2 separate regions of the Homo sapiens genome follow, and region 2 is linked to region 1. The links are contacts of gene promoters, found by promoter capture Hi-C in human tissues and cell types (Jung and others, 2019). All regions are on one chromosome and are shown on one strand. Each heading gives the region's core, a stretch centred on a gene start or on the middle of the fragment in contact. The rest is flanking DNA. Distances are from core to core; before and after follow the strand shown.

Region 1 (4,944 bases), core at 2,445-4,944:
GTAAACAGGGCCTGGAAGGGAAGACCTCCAGCTGCCCAGGAATAAGCTTAATTCTAGACCTAACTATGGCTTGCCCTATTACCTTAGACAAGAAGTTCCTTTGCTTTGTGCTTCATTTCCTCTTATGCAAATAGAGAGTACTGGAGGTAAAAAGGAAGCATCTGTAAAACTGCTTGGAAAGTCAAGCATATTATGGCCACTAAGGTCAGAATTAACATTCACTTTGTACTTTTATGTACTCCAAACAGTTCTGCAGACACTAAAGAATCACTGTAACTGAGACACATAAGCAGAAAAGTTCAAAAAGCGGGGAAAATGTGCTCTAAATAATTTCTTTTTTTTTTTGAGACAGAGTTTCACTCTTGTCGCCTAGGCTGGAGCACAATGGCACGATCTTGGCTCACTGCAACCTCCGCCTCCCAGGTTCAAGCAATTCTTCTGCCTCAGCCTCCCAAGTAGCTGGGATTACAGGCGCCTGCCACCACTAATTAGCGCCCGGCTAATTTTTTGTATTTTTAGTAGAGATGGGGTTTCACCATGTTGGCCAGGCTGGTCTCGAACTCCTGACCTCAGGTGATCCACCCGTCTTGGCCTCCCAAAGTGCTGGGATTACAGGCGGCAGGGCCACCGCACCCGGCCCAATAATTTTTAAAAATAAAGTGAAAGGAAAACTATGCTCACCTGATCCCTGCCCAATGACATATATGGTCTCTCCGCATCCCTCGTCCATCCTCTCCCACATCTGCCGAAGTAGGCTGTCATACTGCTCTGATGTAGGGCTCACTAGAACCAGCTAGAAAAGAAACCAACAGCCTTAGGACCACACTTGCTAGAAGAGCACCACAGCCAAAGCTGATCAATATAGCCTAACCAAAGATCCTGACTGAACCCCATAGCACCCTCATCTAAAAAGGCTGCACAGCCCCTTCATGCCCTCTCTGCTTCTCCTGAAGTAGCCTTTGAGCCTCAGGCCTTATATGAGCCAAATAATATACTACAATGTGTATGTCTGAGCCATAACCCATGGTAAAGAGGGCACAAGCAGCCTGCCTCCTGCTGCTTAACAGGAAGGGCAGGACCCAAGTGACTGAGAATATGGCACTGTGGATAGAAAGCGCAGTGCTTTCCATCTACATGCCAAAGTCTTCTACCTGCAGTTGGCATCTGGAAGCCCACAAGACATATACCTCATATACCTCCATGCCCTCCACCCACAGGCCAGTGGCTTCCAGGATAACAAAAGAATTCTGTTCTATCTTGTCTTAGCTATATTGAATATTTGGGAATGAAAACTGCCTGCAAGACTCATCTTCATCAACAAAGCACCATCACCATTACCACTACGAGGAGTATTAGCACCGTCATTTTGCAAATGTCTGCCAATAACATTGAAGTGTCAACCATTTACTTGGGTAAGCCATTTGGCAATCAGACCCCATTCTCTAACCACTCCTGTGTGACCTTGGACAAAGAATTTAACCACTCTGAGTTTCAGTTTTTCAATCTATAAAACGGAGCTAATACTACCTGCATCCTAAGGCCACTGTAAAGAGCAAATATAATAACATGTAAAGCATCTAGTCCACAGCTCAATAAATGTGAAACTACAAGGTTTTCTTCACCCAATCATTCCCAGAAAAACCTTGTTGGATGAAACTAGCCACCACTATTCACTAAGTGTTTCTCCCTTTGGAAGCTCTCGGAGCCTTAGGTCTCCACATTTTCTATCGTAAGGACATGAACCTTTCGCTTCTAATCTGTTCCTCCGGAATCAATCTATTCAACCCAACCCTTCTCTCCCTCCACACCATCACTTTTTCTTTTTGATATCATCGATATTAATATACATATGATTTTTTTTAATTGTAAGGAGGACTTCCCCAGCTATGTGATGAAATAACACTTCTAGGAATATTAAATGAGCTGGTCAAGAAATGAAGGTACTACCGTCTTTGCAACTCTGCCCTGCAATTTCCTATCATGTTTCTTCAGCACCTTGACCATGTGTTGACATCCAGTTTGTTTGCTCTTGAGTCAGGTCCATAATCTTGTAACTTCCTGAGTTGACTCATCAGAGCTTGTAATTGTAACCTGGATGTTTCCTGGGTCTTTTACATCGTCCTGGCCATCCCTCTCTCTAAGTTTGGCCATCCTCATTATGGCCTTACAGGCACAAGACAGGACCAACTTTGACAGGCTAGCTGGCTTCCAAGTGCTCACCTGAGACTACAATGGCAAAGAGCAGTTGAAAATAACTTGCTTAGGTTGCAGGGAAAGTTCCTCCCCAGTTTAGGACCAAGTTTCATGCAAATTTGCCGCCATAAACTATAAAAAGTCACAAACATTTTCAAAGCTGGATAAAATGTCTATCGTAACTATCCTACAAATGTAAGTGGTGGTATTGGTGTTCTATCTTTCACCCACTGCTATTTAATCTGCACAGGAAATTAGGAACTATCTCGTTCACTTCAAACATTTACTGAGTCTCTAGTATGCATCAGGCACTATTAGGTGTCTTCTTAAATATTTCTAATTTTTACAACCCATCTGTACTTTCTTAAGATGAGGTGGTTGGAGAACTGAAAGGTTAAGAAACTTTCCCAACGTCACAGAGCCTTTCGATGGTAGGGCAGGAAAGGGAACCCAGCCCTGTCTGACTCCCAAGTTGGCATTCTTTCCCTAAGGAACGTTAAGCACCTTCAAAACACCAGTCACATCTTGTATTTACTTTTCTATTCTTCACAATGTCAAGCCGTTGGCGAGGCCTTAATTCCTGCCTACCTTCTCGACAGCTCAAAAAACACGGTTTTAAACGTCCTTCACTGCTCCACTCATACAAGATGAGCTTCCACTCACAGGATAGCGAGACTAAGGAGCCTGACCATCTTTCCATTTTGTTTCGGGTGGCCTCGAAAAGTAGACATTCTCGGACATGCTCCTCCCCAGCTGAGCGACTACTTTCTGTTTCCTTTCCCGAGTCTGGGAAGAGACGCGGCGGCCACCCTGCCCTGGCCTCCGACTACCTGTCTTCATGAGCGTCTCGGCCCCCTGCCCGGGCCCCCTCGCCCCTCTGCTGTCCCGCGCGGTCCAGGGAGAGGAGACTCTCGGTCTCCGAATCCCCTCAAGTGGGGACCCGAAGAACGGGGAGGGGCACTGAGCGGGGACAGGGAACGCGCGGAGCGCAGCTGGCATCGGGCGCCCCCGTTCCACGTGGCAGAGCCGAGGGGTTACGATCTCGGCGGGAGACGGGAGGGCGGGAGGCTGGGTTGGCGACGCGGGGGAGCCAAGGTGGGTGCGGGGACCATGGGGACGGCCCCTCGCGCCGCGAACCCCCGCACGTCCCGGAGACTAGCAGGTGGGCGGGCTCGGCCCCTTCTTCCCGTTCCGCGCTCCCCGCGGACAGGGCGGCCGCTGGCCCCGCCGTCGCCCGGGAGACTGCTCGGCCAGCCGCCCGCTCCCCTCAGCGCCCGCCGCCGCCGCCCGGGCCTACCTTGCTGGTGAGGTCCAGCTCTGGCTCGCCGTTGAGCGCCTCGCCGTCCTCGCTGCAGTCCGAGTCAAAGCCGCCGTGGAGTCGGGCGGCGGCCGCCGCGGCCCTGGCCGCCCCCGGGGAGCTGGGCTCGGGGGCGAACATAGAGGCCGGGACCGGCGAGTCCATCGCGGAGCGACTGCGCTCCGTCGCCATCTTTAATAACTTAGGCTAATTCGTAGCCGGCTTCCCTCCCTCCCAGGCTCATTTGACTAATCTATGCACAGAGCCCCGCCCCGCTCCTTATCGGAATAATTTATGCAAAACTCCAGCCGCGTACTGGGTGACACGTACCTCTAGCTAAGAAACAGTCGACTAGGCCTCTCAGCCACCAATCCCTGCAGAGCTTTCAAGTACCTAATGAATAATTAATGAGGCCCAAATCCCAACAACAAATGTCTGAGACGTCACGCGCCCTGCTCCCAGCTTGGGAGGGGGCAGTACCGAGTCCCCGCTACCCGCCTGAAGCCTTCCCGCCAACGGAAGCAGAGAAGTGTCTGACTGACACAGCAGCCATCCAATGAGGAGAGAAATACAAACAACGTTACTCGTCAACGCCCCTTCACTCTCCTTGTTTCCAGAGGCGGTACTAAGCCTGCAAATCTTACTGCAAAACAGTAGGCGCTGTAAGCCTTCCGATGACGGACAAGGGCAGGACCCAATCGAGTCATAGAACAGGTCCCGCGCCTGGACCTGCTCATGGAGATAGTAAACTGCAAAATGAGCCTCCCACTCGATTCAGTGACTGAGGCAGTTGCTGGAACGCCGATGTCCAACGTGCTGGCATGCTCCAGGCAACTTTAATAGTAGGATCGATGCTGTAAGTTCCAAGAGTTGTAATACTATAGCAGCCAGAGTGAGGCAATAATTAAATGCTGACCTTAGGGAGAATTCTCCATTCACTGCCTTTGCGGAGGCAATCACACGAACTAAAAACAGAGGCAAGCAGCTAAAATTAAAAGCCAAAAAACACCTCACCACTTTTGTGGTGAACTGCTAAACCGAAATCTAGGGTCTCATAAGGTAGTTTCCTATGGATTATTTTTCCAGTGTCATCAGTTGTGAAAAGCCCCAACCCAAAATGCCATCAACACACGTTTTAGTGTCTTGAATTCCTGTTTCAAAAGCCGGAAAAGCCTAGGCCGTCATTGTTTGGCGAAATTAGGGATTAACCAACGTCTATGAATGTCGGCCTTGGCCACTCGAACCAGGCATCAAGCAAACAAGAGCATGTTTGAGAAGATAAGGAATCCAAGACTTAGGGTTTGGACCTAAACCCTAAATCTTTAGTGAGCAAGTGGCAGGATTGAAAATGGCTTTCAGTTTTGGGGATCTACCTGAGAAGAAAGAGACAGTCTCTTCTTGTCCCTGTTTTCCACTACTATCAAGTCTTATTTGCACAAACACAGCTGGGAATC
Region 2 (5,146 bases), core at 1,190-3,689, 1.5 Mb before region 1:
AGTGACTTATCCCAAATCACACAGCTGAACAGCTGCAGAAGAGGGACTGGTTTCCCAATTCTGAACTCTACACTTATTGTTTTGCCTGTATGTGTGTTCAGTACCTCCTCCCCCAAACCCAAATAAAAACTATGCTTCAGCACTGCAAACGGAGTTTCTCTGGGCTAGGGCAGGTCTGAGTCATCTTTAATCCCCTCCCCCACCGCAGGAGGTAGCTCTGCAGCTGAGGGAGCCTAGGCACTAAATTAAAACCTACCTGGTTTCCACCACTCCTAATCCCTTCTCCTTCGCATATACATCTCCACTCCTACCCACTTAAGAAACCCAAGCTCGGTTTGCATCTCCAGCCCCCGCGGCTCACAGGCCGTGTAACTTCACTGCTAACAGCAAGTAAGTAAGTCCCTTACCCATCCTCCCACCCTGCCTGGCCTCCGTTTTCTCATTGGTAGCCGGCGGAGATTGGGCTTCCCTAGATGGTATCTTTGGTTTCTTTCACCTCTGAAACTCTGCACTTGGCTTCTTTGAGTAGTTCTGTTCATCTTTTCCTGGCCATCTCAAAAGTTCGCCTCCACCCTGGGAAGGCTTCTTGACCCTCGCAGTCCAGACCAGGCCCTCCTGTTAACACTCCCATAATATCCTTTACTACTTCTTCAGAGCAATGGTCATAATTGCAATTTATGAAAGAATGTGCTTAACATTAGTCTTCCCCAGGAGACTGTAAACTGTATAAGGAAAAACACCACGTCTTCACTGCTCTGTGAGGCTCCACACCAAACACCACATAGGAGGTAAATAAATGAATAAATCAATGACTTGGACCCTATTCAGAAGGGCTGGGCTGAGTAGGAGGAAATCTGCCACCTGAATATAAAAAATGTAGGGGAATGAGGGTCACATAGTTCCCAGAAACTCGCATTCATCTATGTTTTAAGGACGGCTTCAGGAAAGAAAGTAACTAAAATGGTAAAAAGCGCATGAGGCCGGGTGCGGTGGCTCATACCTGTAATCCCAGCACTTTGGGAGGCCGAGGCAGGCAGATCACCTGAGGTCGGGAGTTCGAGACCAGCCTGACCAGCATGGAGAAACCCCGTCTCTACTAAAAATACAAAATTAGCCAGCGTGGTGGCACATGCCTGTAATCCCAGCTACTAGGGAGGCTGAGCTTAGCAGGAGAATCGCTTGAACCCGGGAGGCGGAGGTTGTGGTGAGCCGAGATCGCGCCATTGCACTCCAGACTGGGCAGCAAGAGTGAAACTCCATCTCAAAAAAAAAAAAAAAAAAAGTGCATGAGAATGCCCTGTGACTATCGACTCCACCTATCTCTATAAGCCAGAAAAGGGAGGATTCCCTAGTGTGCTTCTCCCATAAACTAGGCTGCCATGCCAGCCAGCAGACAACTGATGGATTCTAGAAACCCGGCTTTCCTTGAAAAGGAACCTACGAATGCTTGTAAAATCCCACAACACTTGTTGTCATCCTGGCTTCTGGGTCTTTATACAGTCTCCCGCCTTTGCTCTTTCCACTCAGATATGACGACAGGAAAGGAGCTGTTTCATGGCAGGCAAAGGCCAATGCCTGGACAATCTGGTAGCCTGAATAGCTGTGGCTTAACAAGCTTCCACTGTCTTTGCCTAGCACTGAGTGAAATAGCCAGGCCCTGCACTGACAATTGAGATGCAGGAAAAAGCAGGAAACTACTAGAATGGAAATTCTGATTATTTAGTCTATTTTTATCCTTCCAATACCTTCCAGATGAGTTACTGAAAGCCTACTTGCTTGTAGCTGGCTCGATTTGTAAAAATGTGTGGAGACTGAACATCCACCTTGTTTTAATTTGTGATGGACATGCTTTCTTTATGAAACTGAACTTTGCTAAGTCTCCATTCCCCAGTGTAGAATATTATTGTATACAAATATTTATATGTGTTGCCTTGTAAGTGTTAAATAGCAAACTGCATGAAAAGTTTGGAAACAGAACAAACATATTTTAAATAAAATATTGGTTCTAATTTCAAATAATATGCTGAAAACATATATATATATATTTTGAGACAGAGTCTTGCTCTGTCACCCAGGCTGGAGTGCAGTGGCATGGTATCGGCTCACAGGAACCTCCACCTCCTGGGTTCAAGCGATTCTCCTGTCTCAGCCTCCTGAGTAGCTGGGATTACAGACACATGCCACCATGCCCAGATAATTTTTGTATTTTTAATAGAGACAGGGTTTCACCATGTTGGCCAGGCTGGTCTCGAACTCCTGACCTCGTGATCTGCCCACGTCAGCCTCCCAAAGTGCTGAGATTACAGGCATGAGGCACTGCGCCCGGCCACTGAATATTTTTTCCTTAACCTCCACATCATCTTTTCTATGCAATACCTCTAAATTTAATACAATTAGTCTAATCGTTTATCTAAAACAAACAAGTGCAATAAATACATTATTTCTCCCTTGTGTTTCCAGACATAATAGATTCTGTGATAGATTTATTATACTTTTTTCATATTAACAATTAGACAATATTTTAAAATTATATTATTGTAAGGTAAGGACACAAAGAAATAAATTTTTTTTTTTTTTTTTGAGATGGAGTCTCGCTTTGTCGCCCAGGCTAGAGTGCAGTGGTGCTATCTCGGCTTACTGCAAGCTCCGCCTCCCGGGTTCACGCCATTCTCCTGCCTCAGCCTCCCGAATAGCTGGGACTATAGGTGCCTGCCACCACGCTCGGCTAATTTTTTTGTATTTGTAGTAGAGACGGGGTTTCACTAAATCACCTCGTGATCACCTCGTGATCTGCCGGCCTCAGCCATAAAAATTATTTTCTAAAACTAAAAACAAGAACATTCAAATGACTGTTATCTTTCAAAGCTGGCACCTTTGGAGGTTACATACCATTCCTCAAAATATTTTTATCAGAAAACATGATTGGCCAGGCATGGTGGCTTATACCTGTAATCCCAGCACTTTGGGACGCCGAGGTGGGTGGATCACTTGAGGCCAGGAGTTCGAGACCAGCTTGGCCAACATGGCAAAATCCCGTTTCTACTAAAAATAACAAAAATTAGCTGGGCATGGTGGCACACGCCTGTAGTCCCAACTACTCAGCAGGCTGAGGCTCAAGAATCACTTGAAGCCAGAAGGTGGAGGCTGCAGGTTGCAGTGAGCTGCAGTGAGCAAGGTCGTGCCACTACCCTCCAGCTGGGGCAATAGAGCAAAACTCTGTCTCTAAAAAAAAAAAGAAAAAGAAAAAGAAGAAAACAAGATTGAAAAATAACTGAACTGAGTATTTAACTCAAAAATCTAGAAAAAGGCTGGGCGTGGTGGCTCACGCCTGTAATCACAGCACTCTGGGAGACTGAGCCAGGCAGATCACCTGAGGTCAGGAGTTCAAGACCAGCCTGGCCAACATGGTGAAAACCCAACTCAAAATACAAAATTTAGCTGGGCATGGTGGTACCTGCTGGTAATCCCAGCTACTTGGGAGGCTAAGGCAGGACAATTACTTGAACCTGGGAGATGGTGGTTGCAGTGAGCTAAGATCATGCCACTGCACCCCAGCCTGGACAACAGAATGAGATTCTGTCTCAAAAAAAAAAAAAAAAAAAAAAAAAAAATATATATATATATATATATGTTCAAAAATCTAGAAAAAGAGTTAATAAACCCCAAAAATGAATAAATATAAAAGCAAGGCTGGCCATGGTGTTGACTCATGCCTGTAATCCCAGCACTTTGGGAGGCCAAAGTTAGAGGTTTACTTGAGCCCAAGAGTTTGAGACTGGGCAACAAACATAGTGAGATCTCGCCTCTACAAAAAAATAAAAAAAGTCAGCCAGGCTTGGTGGGGTATGCCTGTGGTCCTAGCTACTCCGGAGGCTGAGCTGAGATCACGCCACTGTACTCCAGCCTTGGTGACAGATTATATATATATCTGTTTTGTTGTTTTTGGCACAGATATAAAGTAACAGCCAAAAAAAAAAAAAAAGAGTAAACTGAATTAATAAAAACAAAAACTAGGCCAGGCGTGATGGCTCACACCTGTAATTCCAGTACTTTGGGAGGCCGAGGGTGGATCACGAGGTCAAGTGATCAAGACCATCCTGGTCAACATGGTGAAACCCCGTCTCTACTACAAATACAAAAATTAGCCGGGCGTGGTGGCACGCACCTGTAGTCCCAGCTACTCGGGAACCTGAGGCAGGAGAATTGCTTGAATCCGCGAGGTGGAGGTTGCAGTGAGCGGAGATCACCAGTAGAGCGAGACTCCATCTCAAAAAAAAACCAAAAAACAAAACCAAAAACTATATTTTGTTTTAAAACACTAAATAAATGTAGATAATTCTGTCAAAAATCTGATCAATTGAAAGAGAGAAGTCACAAACATTAGGGCTGAGAAAGAGGATATCATAACTGCAGATTTAGAGAAAATCTTTTAACTCATGCTAGAATTATATGTAACTTTACATAAATAAACTTGAAGATTAAATAAGATGGATGATAGTCAAAGAAAACAGAAGTTACCAAAATCAACTCAAGAAAAATTAGGGGAACAACAACCCAGAGCAGAAATCTCTAAGATCTTCAAAGAATGAGCCACTAAGACAACAGCAAGCCCAATTTTCTAGGTGAATGCTATCTAACTCTTATTGAACAGATAATTTCCACGTTATCCTTACTGTTCCAGGAGGTGTAAGGATAAAAGGAAAAGCTTCCTACTTTCTTCCATGAGGATAACATATTCTTGATATGAATTTAGACTAAGATGGTACAAAAAATAAAACTAAACTAATGTTCACTTGTGAAGACAGATGCAAAAATACTAAGTAAAATATTATCAGACAGAACTGAGTAGTTTTAAGAGAATAATTCATTATGACCACATAGGCTTTACACCAACAACACTACACCAACAATACAAGGATGGTTAAATTACAACGATACAGGGACAGTTAAACTAGCTACTAACATTAATCTTCATTTGTTCAATAAATATGTACTAAGTACTTTCCCTATCAGACTCTGTGCTAAGTGCTAGGGATGCAGCAGTGAAGCAGAAGGTTCTCGTCTATATGGAGCTGACATCCTCATAGGAGAAGGAACTCACTGAGAAGGGAATAAGCAGTTTGACAGGATATAGAATAACTGAGAG

The links. The method cuts DNA at HindIII sites, captures the fragments that hold promoters and counts their contacts. A contact is called where the count stands out against the background at its distance.
Region 2: a fragment that was not itself captured here is called in contact with the fragment with the promoter of GTPBP1 in region 1 in 1 of the 25 tissues and cell types used here (dorsolateral prefrontal cortex).

What each region holds. Positions count from the first base shown.
Region 1 is chr22:38,704,694-38,709,637 of GRCh38, reverse strand. GTPBP1 (GTP binding protein 1) reads right to left here and starts at 3,694. Exons shown (of 12, transcript NM_004286.5): 1 at 3,491-3,694; 2 at 682-793. The coding sequence starts at 3,682. RefSeq lists silencers at 3,046-3,185, 3,366-3,775, 4,096-4,245 and enhancers at 2,879-3,564, 3,866-4,015, 3,565-4,250, 4,251-4,936. The HindIII fragment of the contact is 4,768 bases long and covers 2,673-4,944 here.
Region 2 is chr22:40,172,259-40,177,404 of GRCh38, reverse strand. It overlaps a transcript of TNRC6B not described here. Among named protein-coding and RNA genes, the nearest start is that of TNRC6B, 3.1 kb to the left of the region's middle. The HindIII fragment of the contact is 5,621 bases long and covers 1-5,146 here.